3 separate regions of the Homo sapiens genome follow, and regions 1 and 3 are each linked to region 2. The links are contacts of gene promoters, found by promoter capture Hi-C in blood cells and fetal thymus (Javierre and others, 2016). All regions are on one chromosome and are shown on one strand. Each heading gives the region's core, a stretch centred on a gene start or on the middle of the fragment in contact. The rest is flanking DNA. Distances are from core to core; before and after follow the strand shown.

The links. The method cuts DNA at HindIII sites, captures the fragments that hold promoters and counts their contacts. A CHiCAGO score of 5 or more calls a contact.
Region 1: the fragment with the promoter of CFLAR here is called in contact with the fragment with the promoter of NDUFS1 in region 2 in 1 of 17 cell types (fetal thymus); the score reaches 5.2 in fetal thymus.
Region 3: a contact is called between a fragment that was not itself captured here and the fragment with the promoter of NDUFS1 in region 2, in 2 of 17 cell types (non-activated CD4 T cells and monocytes). The highest score is 10.7, in non-activated CD4 T cells.

What each region holds. Positions count from the first base shown.
Region 1 is chr2:201,113,970-201,117,771 of GRCh38, reverse strand. CFLAR (CASP8 and FADD like apoptosis regulator) reads right to left here and starts at 1,608. Exons shown (of 10, transcript NM_003879.7): 1 at 1,291-1,608. It overlaps LOC105373836 (a long non-coding RNA gene), which reads left to right and starts at 1,088. Exons shown (of 3, transcript XR_923785.3): 1 at 1,088-2,828. RefSeq lists a silencer at 1,123-1,332 and an enhancer at 1,363-1,622. The HindIII fragment of the contact is 6,122 bases long and covers 573-3,802 here.
Region 2 is chr2:206,157,633-206,161,497 of GRCh38, reverse strand. NDUFS1 (NADH:ubiquinone oxidoreductase core subunit S1) reads left to right here and starts at 2,054. Exons shown (of 19, transcript NM_005006.7): 1 at 2,054-2,157. EEF1B2 (eukaryotic translation elongation factor 1 beta 2) reads right to left here and starts at 1,603. Exons shown (of 6, transcript NM_001959.4): 1 at 1,439-1,603; 2 at 788-910; 3 at 26-152. The coding sequence starts at 1,518. RefSeq lists a silencer at 1,267-1,336 and enhancers at 1,597-1,856, 1,967-2,376. The HindIII fragment of the contact is 3,079 bases long and covers 135-3,213 here.
Region 3 is chr2:200,806,745-200,810,967 of GRCh38, reverse strand. All of the region lies in intron 1 of BZW1-AS1 (BZW1 antisense RNA 1), which reads left to right. Among named protein-coding and RNA genes, the nearest start is that of BZW1, 3.1 kb to the left of the region's middle. The HindIII fragment of the contact is 1,234 bases long and covers 1,122-2,355 here.

The DNA.
Region 1 (3,802 bases), core at 359-2,858, 5.0 Mb after region 2:
AAAAAAAAAAAAAAAAAAAAAGATCTTGGAGCTCCAGCCAGGTTTTTTGTTCAACGAAACTTTTGTAAGGTTATTTAGGGGAATCACCAAACCGAAAAGTGCCAAAAACTCCGTTCCTCTTATCGGAAATCTCTCTCTAAAGCAGGTCAAACCTTCCAGAGCCCGCTGTCTGTTGTAGATTATCGCAGTTTGTTGATGTCCAAAAAGCTTTACTTATGCTATACGCTATCCCCCTACTGGTTTCACCCCTCATTGCTTAAGAACAAATTTCAAATGTCAACCAATTAAAATATTCGCAAGACCTCTGGCGTCCTTGAATTTACTTCCTGCCCGTGGAGCCAAAAACTGATTCTGAATTTCAGTGGCCTTTGTTCTACTGCGTGCCACTGTTAATATTAAAAGAACATGGCCTTCTGTCCAAATCCAGACACCCTCAAGCAAGAACATCTTGAAGCCAGTTTACATTTCCCAGTCGTTTTGAGGCGGTGGAAAAGTGGCAGAAACAGGTTCATTTTAAAAGGCTCTAAAAACTTTTCATTAGCCAAGCATTCCCAGCTTTCCCAAGGCAAGCTTTCCTTGCACTTGGGCAAAATAGACATTAAACTGCTCTGGAAAATAACCGCCCTGACCAGGCTATTGTGAAATTCCCTCCAGGGCGGCGGCTCCCACTGAGTGAGATCGAGCGCATACACAATTGTTGGGAAAGTCCACGTTCCCAACAACTTTCGAAAGGAAAAATGCCAGATCTTCTCAACAGTTCACCCCAAGAATTGAACTCTCAAGATCATTTTAAGCAAAGTTTACACGACGCTGAGGGCCCGCCACTGAAGCTCGCGGGTGGGCCTCTGGGGCTGCGGCTGCAGGGGGCGGCCAGAGTTGGCCAAGGGTTACTTCCGGTCTCTCAGGTCCATCGGGGTGCAGCTTGTACCGCTGTGGCCCAGGTCGCCCCTTTCTGGGAATCCGGGGCGGAGTTGCGGGTAGAAGGGGTTCGGGGGTTCGGAGCCGGGCGGAAACGGAAGCGGGGGCATTCCGCAAAGCCCGCGGTAAACAACCGAGATAAGGAACCTACAAAACTGAGTCAGGTTCCAGAAGCGCCCCCGCCATCCCCTGGCCACTGCCGGCCACCTGCAGTTTCCCGGAGCGCAGGGCTGTGAGGAGCGGCGCGGGGTGGGACGCGGGGCGCGGCGGCGCAGGGCCTGCTGCAATGCTGACTCAGGGCCGGGCGTCGGGGCTTGGGGTCTGGGACAGCTCCGGCGCCGCCAGCGCGGGGGTCGAGCGCGGGGCACGTACCGTCCTGTCGCGGCCGGACTCTCCTGCCGCTGCCACCTCAGCCTTCGCTCCCCTAGACGCCGGGAAGGCGCACCCAAGATGGAGGCAAAGAAACCGAAAGCCTGGAAGCGGACTTGGTGCTGGGCGATCGCTGTTCGCGGCGCTTCTCTCCTACACCTCCTCCCGTGGTCCTTGTTGTCTCAGCTGTCACTGGACAAAAGTCCAATAGCCGGCACTCACTGTGTGAGGCCGAGTCCCCACCCCTAGCTCCGGGAGTCCCTTTTAGTTGAGACTCGTCGGTGAGGCTGCAAGCTCGCTGTTTCCTGCTATGGCTTGTGTGACTGAGTATGCAGTAACCGGGGGTGGATGTCGACACAAGTTCCACGCGTTAGGAGTAAACACTGCGAGTGTTTTTTTTTTTCTTTCTTTCTTTCCTTCTTTTTTGAGACAGAGTCTCGCTCTGTGGCCCAGGCTGGAGTGCAGTGGCGCAATTTCAGCTCACTGCAACCTCCGCCTTCCTAGTTCAAGCGATTCTCTTGCCTCAGCCTCCCGAGTAGCTGGGACTACAGGCACGCGCCAGCACGCCCGCCTAATTTTTGTGTTTAGTAGAGACGGGGTTTCACTGTTGGCCAGAATGGTCTCGAACTCTTGACCTCGTGATCCGCCCGCCTCGGCCTCCCAAAGTGCTGGGATTACAGGCGTGAGCCACCACGCCCGGCGCGAGTGTTTACAATTGTTGTCTGGGAGTCATAGCAAACGTGAACACACTTTGTGGTTTTTTGTGTGTATGTTTTTGTTTGTTTTTTTTTGTTTTCCTTCTTGAGACAGGGTCTCGCGCTGTCGCCCAGGCTAGAAGGCAGTGGCGCCATCACAGCTCACTGCAGCCTGGATTTCCCGCTCTCAAACCATCCAGCCCTCAGCCTCCCAAGTAGCGGGGACCACAGGTGCAAGCCACCATGCCCGACTAATTTTTTTTTTTTTTTGTATTTTTAGTAGAGATGGGGTTTCACCATGTTGGCAAGGCTGGTCTCCAACTGCTGGCCTCAAGTGATCCTTGCCCGCCTCGGCCTCCCAAAGTGCTGGGATCACAGGCGTGAGCCACCGCGCCCCTCTACGTTTTTATTTATTCCTAATAACTACTTTATTGTGATTCTTAAAGAGCTTTAACTTTTCTTGAGATAATTTTAAACTCACAGGAAAGGTGAAGAATAATACCAAGAGAGACTAACAGCAGGACGGCATGAAGAGCTCGGGATTCACCCCTAGTGAAACTGAAAATTATTTAAAACAACAAACAACCATTAACCATTTAAAGCCTTTGAAATGGTCCTAAGGGCAAACAGCAAATGAAGAAACATCTGTTCCAAAAAATCTATGAAAACTCTTGGATCAGAATGTGAGAGTCAGTCTGTGGTATTTAAACCAAACCTCTCCCTTTGTTCAGCAAGAGACTCCACTCCAGACTGCTGCAACTCAGAACCTCTCTCTTCCCACAGCTCCCAGTCAGAGACCAGCATATCAGCATTTCTCATCTTGCCCCTAGCTACCTGATGCTGAAGGTAAATCCTGGGGGAGTGTGGTGGAGAGGTGGGAGATTCCTTCTTCCATCCAGAGGCTCTACCTTGGGTGGAGTGCTGAGACACCAGAGGAGACTTCAGCTCTTTTTCTCCATCACTTTCACCCCATATTCACCCCCAACCTTTTTTTTTAATCTCTCCATCTTCCCAAGATAGTTATATTCTGTTTGATTAATCTTCAGTATATATGCTATTATAATCATGTAAACGGTAGTCACAGCCAAGTTATGTACCAAACTATGATTACTTTTCCTTTCCCACACAACTTTTAGTTTTTTCTGGAGTTAATAATTGTCTTGTTTTGTTGGTTTTTCCATGTAATTCTATCCTAAACTCTGTCAGTTATCCAAGTTTGGTTTTTTGTTTGTTTTTGAGACAGGGTCTCACTCCAGGCTGGAGTGCAGTGACCCGATCACAGCTCACTGCAGCCTTAACCTCCCAGGTTCAAGTGATCCTTCTGCCTCAGCCTCCTGAGTAGCTAGGACTACAGGTCCTAGCATGCCACCATGCTAGGTGTGCCACTACAGGTGCCACCATGCCCAGCTAATTCTTTAAAAAAAAATTTGTGGCCCGGCGCAATGGCTTATGCCTGTAATCCCAGCACTTTGGGAGGCTGAGGCGGGTGGATCACGAGGTCAGGAGTTCAAGACCAGCCTGGCCCAGATAGTGAAACCCCATCTCTACTAAAAATACAAAAAATTAACTGGGTGTGATGGCGGGCGCCTGTAATCCCAGCTACTCAGGAGGCTAAGGCAGAGAATTGCTTGAACCCGGGAGGCGGAGGTTGCAGTGAGCCTAGATTATGCCAGTGCACTCTAGCCTGGGAGACAGAGTAAGACTCCATCTCAAAAAAAAAAAAAAAAAAAAAAAAAAAAAAAATATATATATATATATATATATATATATATATATCTAGTAGAAGCGGGGGTCGTGGGTGGCAGGGAGTCTTGCTATGT
Region 2 (3,865 bases), core at 805-3,304:
ATGTTCTTTATAGAAGACGCCATACCTCCTCATCATCAGATCCAAAGAGGTCAATGTCATCATCATCTTTACTATCTGTAGCTCCACTTCCTGTAGTGTCTTCCACATCGGCAGGACCATATTTGCCCAAAGCTTTCTTCACTCCTGGCAGGCTTGAAAAACATTTAAATTCAACCACTATTGAGCTAGTATAACATCCTTTTCCAGAAAATACAAAATAACTTGTTTTAATCACTACTTATCACTAGATCCCTTTTGCAATCATAATTTACCCTTTCACATGCGCCCAGGTAAACACTGTCATATGTTCAACTCCTCACCCGACAAGCATTAGTACCATGTGAGACATTATTTTCAATACTCACTATGATTTACTCTTTCAGTATGAACATTTCTGTTTGAGATTTCATTAAGTATGCTCAGTTCCATTCTTAGTGAACTGGAGTCCACTTCCCCAAACTTCCACCCTTGTTGGCAGTTTCAGAAGAATGGCCAAGGACTGAATGAATGAGCCACCCTCTCACCCCAGAGGTGGGCCCCCCAGGTCAAGGTCGAGGCACATTGGCAGGGCAGTGTGGGGAAAAGTTGAATTGCTGCTGTCCATGTTCTACCTGTTCTGTGAAAAAATGGAGGGCTTCAGTCTCTTGGCCTTCTAAGGTTACAGAAAAATTTAGCTTACAATATCCCAACAAAACTAAAGTAGCCTGGGTCCAGTTTTGTCATGTGAACATCCTGATAAACTTCGAGAGCAGTCTTATTCTTCAGCTCTATACAAAGATGATTTTACCTGGCCTTTTCCTTTTCGTAAGACTTGATGTGATTATACCAACGTAGGGCATGACACAAGTCGGCAGGCGGTGGGCTGGACACGGCTTCAAATACTGCCACATCTGCTTGTGATGGCACATACCTGCCAAGGACACAGAAACATTCACACACACCTTTGAAAAACAAACGCCAGCGAATAAATAATAAATACCGTATGCATCACATTAATTAGTGGGCACTAACCCCAGCAGGGTTGCTTTAATGCTTTTCTTTTCTTATTAGCTCCTTCAAATCAAACCATATGTTTGGGTCACCGCGCTATCCTGAGAAATGTCTGCCACTAAGTAGACCTCAAATACTGCAATGTCTGGCGTTGCTCTATCTACAGCTTAACATGTATTAACTGGGCAGCGATGCGGAAACACCTGGCTGAATTAAGTGTAAATAAAGCACATTTTAACCTTTCCTTGCTCGTGAACCGCTCCCCGGAGGCCGGGCTCGCCCCACACGAGGGCCTTGGGAGACGGCAACGGGGCGCTTTCCCCTCCCTCTCGAAAGGGCCCCGGGCCCGGCCTCCCTCCCTCCCGCGGCAGCCGACACGCTGCGCCACGTGGCCCCGGCCCCGGGCGGAGAAACCTCCCCGCCACCCCGACTCAGCCCGTCCGCTCACCCCTCGATGTAGCTCTTGTCCGCCAGGTAATCGTTGAGCACCTGGAGGCCGGCAGGGCTTTTCAGGTCTCCGAAACCCATGGTGTCGGCTGTATCCGAGAGCTGGGGAGCAGCAGAAAGAGAGCGCGCAAATTGTGGGCGCCCCACGCTGAAGAGAGGAAAAAGGACCCGAAGAGACCGGAAAATTCCTTATATAGAGACGGAGGCGTTTCCCTCCACCGCGCCGGACCGAAGGTTAAAGGTCAAAGTACTTTTGCATTCCCACTTCTCCACGTACGAATTGGGGGCCCTGAATTAAATGGCCCACAAATTGTCCATGGACCTTTCGTTGCGTTTGGAAGTAAATTAATAAAATAGGCATGTCTTAAGTTCGTACCTCCACGGCTCCCGAAGATGACGGGAACCAGCCCTAGAAGCGCCGGAGATGACCGAAGACGCCCGGCCTCGAGGCTGGGGCCACTTCCGGCGGAACTGCGGGTCCAAGTTGTCCTTCCCGCCTCCGGGCTGGGCCGACCTCAGCTCCGCCCTCTGGTCGGCTGACGGAAATTGCCGACAAACTTGTCGAATGCAAGGATTCTAGTCCCTCCGGGCTTTCCGTTCTCCAGGCCCGGCTGACAGAGTTAGCCGAGGCCGCCATATTGAATAAGCGACCCGGCCTCCTAGGGGGTCGTCGTGGTCCAGACAGTTTAGCAGAACAGCCTCCGCGGCTCCGGGGAGAAGGTGAGGTCTTGTATGGATGGGAAGGGTGAGGTGCGTCGGCCAGAGGCTTATTTATTGACGGGACTGTTTCCTTTGGCCCACGCGACGTAGTCTTCTGTTGTCCTTGACTGGGCGCCGCCTCCCGCCCCGCCGCCTCGGAAGCCCCTGAGAGCCGGCAGATGGGGGGCTTTTAGCCACGGTCTCTGGTCTGATGAAGCAGAAAAGAAGATGAGGATCAGGGGGTCCTCGGGAACGCTGTCACGAATGTAGGCTTGCAGGTGACCTTCCCTCTGCAGGGAAAATTCAGGACATTTCCCTCTCAGAGGAGGAGGCCGTTTTATTCCCCGGGAGAGGACCAGTGTCCGATGACTTAGGCCTTAAGACTAAGCCTTTCCCCCCAGATTTTTACACGCCTGATACAGTGCATGATTGTTTGGTCGCTGTTGTGTTAGCAATGGCTCACGCTTCTGTTTGTTGTCCTTGTTTGTTTGGTCCATTGACCACGTTGGACAGCATTTTTTTATTCCTTTAACTAACGGGAAATTGAGAAAAACGACTTTTGAAAAGTTAGCCCAGGATTGCATTGCAAATAACAAAACGTTGTTTACAGGTTATTGGGATCCAGTGCTTGAACTGTAAGGTCTTGGATCAGACACAACTCTGTTCACACACGAATTGACGGTATAGAAGTGTAACGTTAACTGTTTTTGATGAATAAACAAGTTATTTTTGTTTTGCGGAATATTCTTGTTTTCACCGACTTAAGGCTGCCAGAGCACCTGCACTTTTTAAATCCGGGAAAGTGGTCTCTACAAATTAACGACCAGAAATTAGAGATTCAGTTCACTTAACCGTTATTGAACATTTACTACGAGCCAGAAATGAGTCCGTAAAGAAGAATAAAATGGATGATATGCTGGGGGAATCGTAAATGTTAGATAGCCTGGTCAATGAAACTGAGAAAAGGCTTTTAAGCCAAGATTTGAAGGATAAGGAGGGGCCAGGGAAGAGCATTTCAGTCTGAGGTCACAGCCGGTGGCAAGAGGGGAGAGGCTGTGTGGGAATAGTGTGGAAGCTTGGTGACCTGTTAAGCTATTGAAGGCCGGAGGCGGTGGCTCACTCCTGTAATCCCACCACTTTGGGAGGCCGAGGCGGGCGGATCACGAGGCCAGGAGATCGAGACCATCCTGGCTAACACGGTGAAACCCTGTCTCTACTAAAAATACAAAAAATTAGCTGGGCGTGGTGGCGGGCGCCTGTAGTCCAGCTACTTGGGAGGCTGAGGCAGGAGGCTGGCGTGAACCCGGGTGGCGGGGCTTGCAGTGAGCCGAGATCGCTCCGCTGCACTCCAGCCTGGGCGACAGAGCGAGACTCTGTCTCAAAAAAAAAAAAAAAAAAGCTATTGAAATACTCCAGGCAAGGAGTGATGGTGGATTGGGATAGGGTGGTACCTTGGAAGGCAAGAAGTAAATGGATGGATCCATGTTGGAGAACGTGGAATAGCATAGTCCCTATATGGAAAAGTATCCAGTCTAGTTTAAGAAATGATTAGTCATTAACATTTTCCATCCAAAGAGATAATTATTTCTATTGCTACTTGGCATATCAATGTTCAAAGCACATATCGAAGTGTTGCAAATCTGTATTTCTTATGTTGGGCTATGCTTTGTTGCTGGATGTCAACAGTCTAGTTCTAGTTGATTTCCTATCCAAAGTGAGTACTATTTTT
Region 3 (4,223 bases), core at 489-2,988, 5.4 Mb after region 2:
CCCCATGTTTTTATTCACTGTACAGTAGTTTACTTCTCTCCAGTTGCTTCCTCACTCTCTGGTAGGAGGAGAGTGGCTTCTCTTCCCTAAACCTTTTGATAAAATAGTTTGTTGACTTCTTTTCCCTAATTAACTATCTGACCTCTACCCCACCCCCCCGCAACTTCATGGAAAAATGACTTTCTCAGCGTTCGTTCCTGAAATTATTGCCAAACCCAGTGTTTTATTCTTCACCCTGTTTGCCTCCTCTGAGCATTGAATGTTACCTACCTCTCTCCTTGAATCCTGGCTCCAGCTATCCTGGTTACGTTCTGAATGTGCCTTTGCACGGTATTTTCTGACTCTTCTTTTCTGTACTGATACCTTTTCTTTCTGGATACTTTCTTCTATGGCAGTCTCATACATTCTCAAGGATTTAACATTTACTCCACTTAAAAGAGTTCCAAGATCATCTACTGAATCATTAAGCAAATATTTGTTAAATCCAGGCTCTATGCCCTTCCAAGTTGAGGCAACAGCAGTGGGAAGGAGGCAGGAAACAAACTGCATCTGTTGGAGGAACTGCAAGAAGCTAGTGTGATTGGGAGGGCTGTGGGGAGCAGAGGGAAGTGGCTGGAGTCTGATCTCTAAGTGTCTAGCCCCTTCCTTTCTCCCAAGGCCCCAGTCCACACTATCTGGCATCTTCACTTCATGGCTAATTTAACACTGTCAGTGCTGTCAATTGCTCTTCCCCCAGAACTGTATTTTTCACATCTGAAGTTCTGTTAAAGGACAACGTTTCACAAATAAAAATGATAACTAATATGTCCCTATATGTATCAGGCCCTCTTCTATGCACTTTATGTAGTAACCCCATTTCATCCTGAAAACTACCCTGTAATCTAGACACTATTATTAGTCCCATTTTACAGATGGAAAAGCCGAGGCATCGAGGTCAGGTAACTTGTCTAAGATCATAGCGCTAGTAAGTGGAAGAGGTCCAGTTGAACCCAAGCAGTCTGGCTTCACCATTATAATGCACCGCCTTACCACCAAGATCTTATTTATTCATTCAACAAATATTTATTCAGCTAGAGACCAGTAGAGATAGTGACATGTTACGCCTATGGCCTCACAAAGCTTATCTTCTATTTTTGCCACGTTTTAAAATTGTATCATCTTTCCCCAGTACCATCTTGATTTAGGCATCTATTACCCCTAACTAAATGGGACTTTTGCAATAACTTCCTAACTGTACTATCCCCTTTCTCAACATTTCCAGAGCAATCTTCTCAACTGCAAGCTGAATCATTTCTCTTCACTGTTTAAATGCCTCTGTTTATACTCAGGGATAGCTCTGACCAATGTTTTTCACCTTTACTTCCCATCACATTTGTGGTTCTTAACCTGTTATTACCATCATTGTGGGGTATGTAGCAAATGATTTTTGACTAAAAATGATATTAAAGTAAGCAGATTATTTTCTTTAAAATGTAAAGTGGATTAAAGGTTTTCCTGAACTCCTGGCCTCAAATAATCCTCCCACCTTGGCCTCCTGAAGTGTTGGGATTACAGACCACACCTTGCCACTTATCTTTTCTCTGCTTTTGGGTGCACCCATGGGAATAGGCACCGTGCAGCTAGCAGGGGAAACGTTGTTTGTGAATTGTATTATGGTAGGAAAAGGTTCCAAACAATTGAACTCTATGCTTTGGTCAGACAGGACACATCTTGTCTTGACCTTTCTTGAGATGTCCTTCCCTCATTTTCCACTGTCAAAATCCCACTATTGTTTCAAGCCTTATCTCAACTACTGCTTTTTTCCCATAAGCCTTTCTTAGTCATGGATGTGAACACATTCCTTCTTTGTAATTGGGCTACAGGCATGAGCCACTGAGTCTGCTAATTTTTTTTTTTTTTTTTTGGTGATGATGGGGTTTTGCTTTGTGGCCCAGGCTGGTCTCAAACTCCTGGCCTTAGGTGAGCCTCCCGCCTCAGCCTCCCAAAGTGCTGAGATTATAGGTGTGAATCATCACGCCTAGCCTTGCCCAGTTTTATGGTTGTTTTGGGAAAAAGGATATGCTGATTTCTTCACTCTGCCATTGCTGTGAATCCCCCTTAGTACTTTTGGATTTAAAAATTTTGAACTACTTAAAAAGAAAGGTGCTAAGTGCAACATGTGAATGTGCTACTGCTTTTAACTTCATTGATGGGAATGGATACCTAAGTGTTTCTTTTTTAAAAGCAAGTGACAATAGGTTTTTATTCCTAACAACTAGAAGAATATCAAGGGCCTGTTTTGAAAAGCACATTGTTGCCCTTGGAAAATGAGCTGGGGGAAGTATTTATTCCTATGCTTTGAGTCTTGTAGAAGCTTATAGAACATCCTATGAACCTGGCTTAAATATTGTAGCATATGTATATGAAATACTTCTAGTTACACACACCTATATATGTATGCATATATTTATGTATGTATGTGTGGCCAGAAGTATTTTCATAGGCTCCACAAAATTTTTACAGTGAAAAAGCTTTGAGGTACAATGAGCTTTTAAATAATTTCATTTTAGGTAAAAAATGTGTTAAATATCATTCACTTGCTACATATCTCATATATACCATTTCTTTTACTTCTTCATAGAATTATTTTAATAGTTATAATTATTAATAATATTTGACATAATCAAGATAAAAAGCATTGCTTAGTTACATTAACATTTTAGTAATATTTGTTAAATAAATACCCTCTTTTAGCAAACACACTCTATTATTTAGATTTTAGTTTTTTTTTTTTTTTTAATAGAGACAGGATCTGGTTATGTTGCCCAGAATGACCTCCAACTCATGGGCTTTAGCAATCCTCCCACCTCTGCCTCTCAAAATGTTGGGATTTATAGGCGTGAGCCACCACACCTGGACTCGATTTTTGAATAGGCCGAAATAATTGGGAAGCTTAGGGATTCAAGAAATTTGGCATACATGCATTTTCTGTTTCTCTCTCTCCCCTCTTAACATCAGAATAATGACAGGTTAAGGTGAAAACTCTTTGCTCCTGTAAAGTGCTTGTTCAGAATATAGTTTGAAGTGAGTTGCCAAATAAGTGATATTTGGGGTGATTTAAATATGTGCATTCTAAGTTATATAGCATTCAAGACATTCATTAAAACGAAGCAAAATAAAAACCAACAAGAGAACAGTGTAATGGCATGTGGTATGTTAGCTATAGGATTGTTTAGAAAAAACTGTTTACTGCTTATTATTAATAGTTCATATCTCCTAGAATATTACTGCAGAACTGAAGATTAAGAAATGTTACTAAGAGGCCGGACGTGGTGGCTCACGCCTGTAATCCCAGCACTTTGGGAGGCCGAGGCGGGCGGATCACGAGGTCAGGAGATCGAGACCATCCTGGCTAACACGGTGAAACCCCGTCTCTACTAAAAATACAAATTAACCGGGCGTGGTGGCGGGCGCCTGTAGTCCCAGCTACTCAGGAGGCTGAGGCAGGAGAATGGTGTGAACCCGGGAGGCAGAGCTTGCAGTGAGCCGAGATCCCGCCACTGCACTCCAGTCTGGGCGACAGAGTGAGACTCCGTCTCAAAAAAAAAAAAAAAGAAATGTTACTAAGGACGCCAGATCCAAACATCTCTGTGTTGGAAAATTATCTCCAATGCATAACGGTTTCCTTGGCATATTTAGATGGCCATCTTTCTTTGATGTCTTTTTTAAAACCTACATTTCATTTTTTGGGAGCCTCAGTGCGATGGAATTTTTTTTTTTTTTTTTTTGAGACGGAGTCTCTCTCTGTTGCCCAGGCTGGAGTGCAGTGGTGCGATCTTCACTCACTGCAACCTCCGCCTCCCGGGTGCAAGCGATTCTCCTGCCTCAGCCTCCTGAGTAGCTGGGATTACAGGTGCGTGCCACCACCCCTGGCTAATTTTTGTATTTTTAGTAGAGACGGGGTTTCACCATGTTGGCCAGGCTGGTCTCAAACTCCTGACTTCAAGTGATCCGCCGGCCTCAGCCTCCCAAAGTGCTGGGATTACAGGTGTGAGCTGCCGCGCCCAGCTGATGGAAAGTTTTTATTTAAGATGAAAAAGCAACTAAACTAAATAGAACTTAATCACTGCCTTATTGCTATTATTAGTAGTACTACTGCTATTACTTGGTATGTACTACTATTAGTAGTAATAGAGTGGTCACAGTAGACCTTAAATTTATAGAGGATGTTACTGTTTACAAAA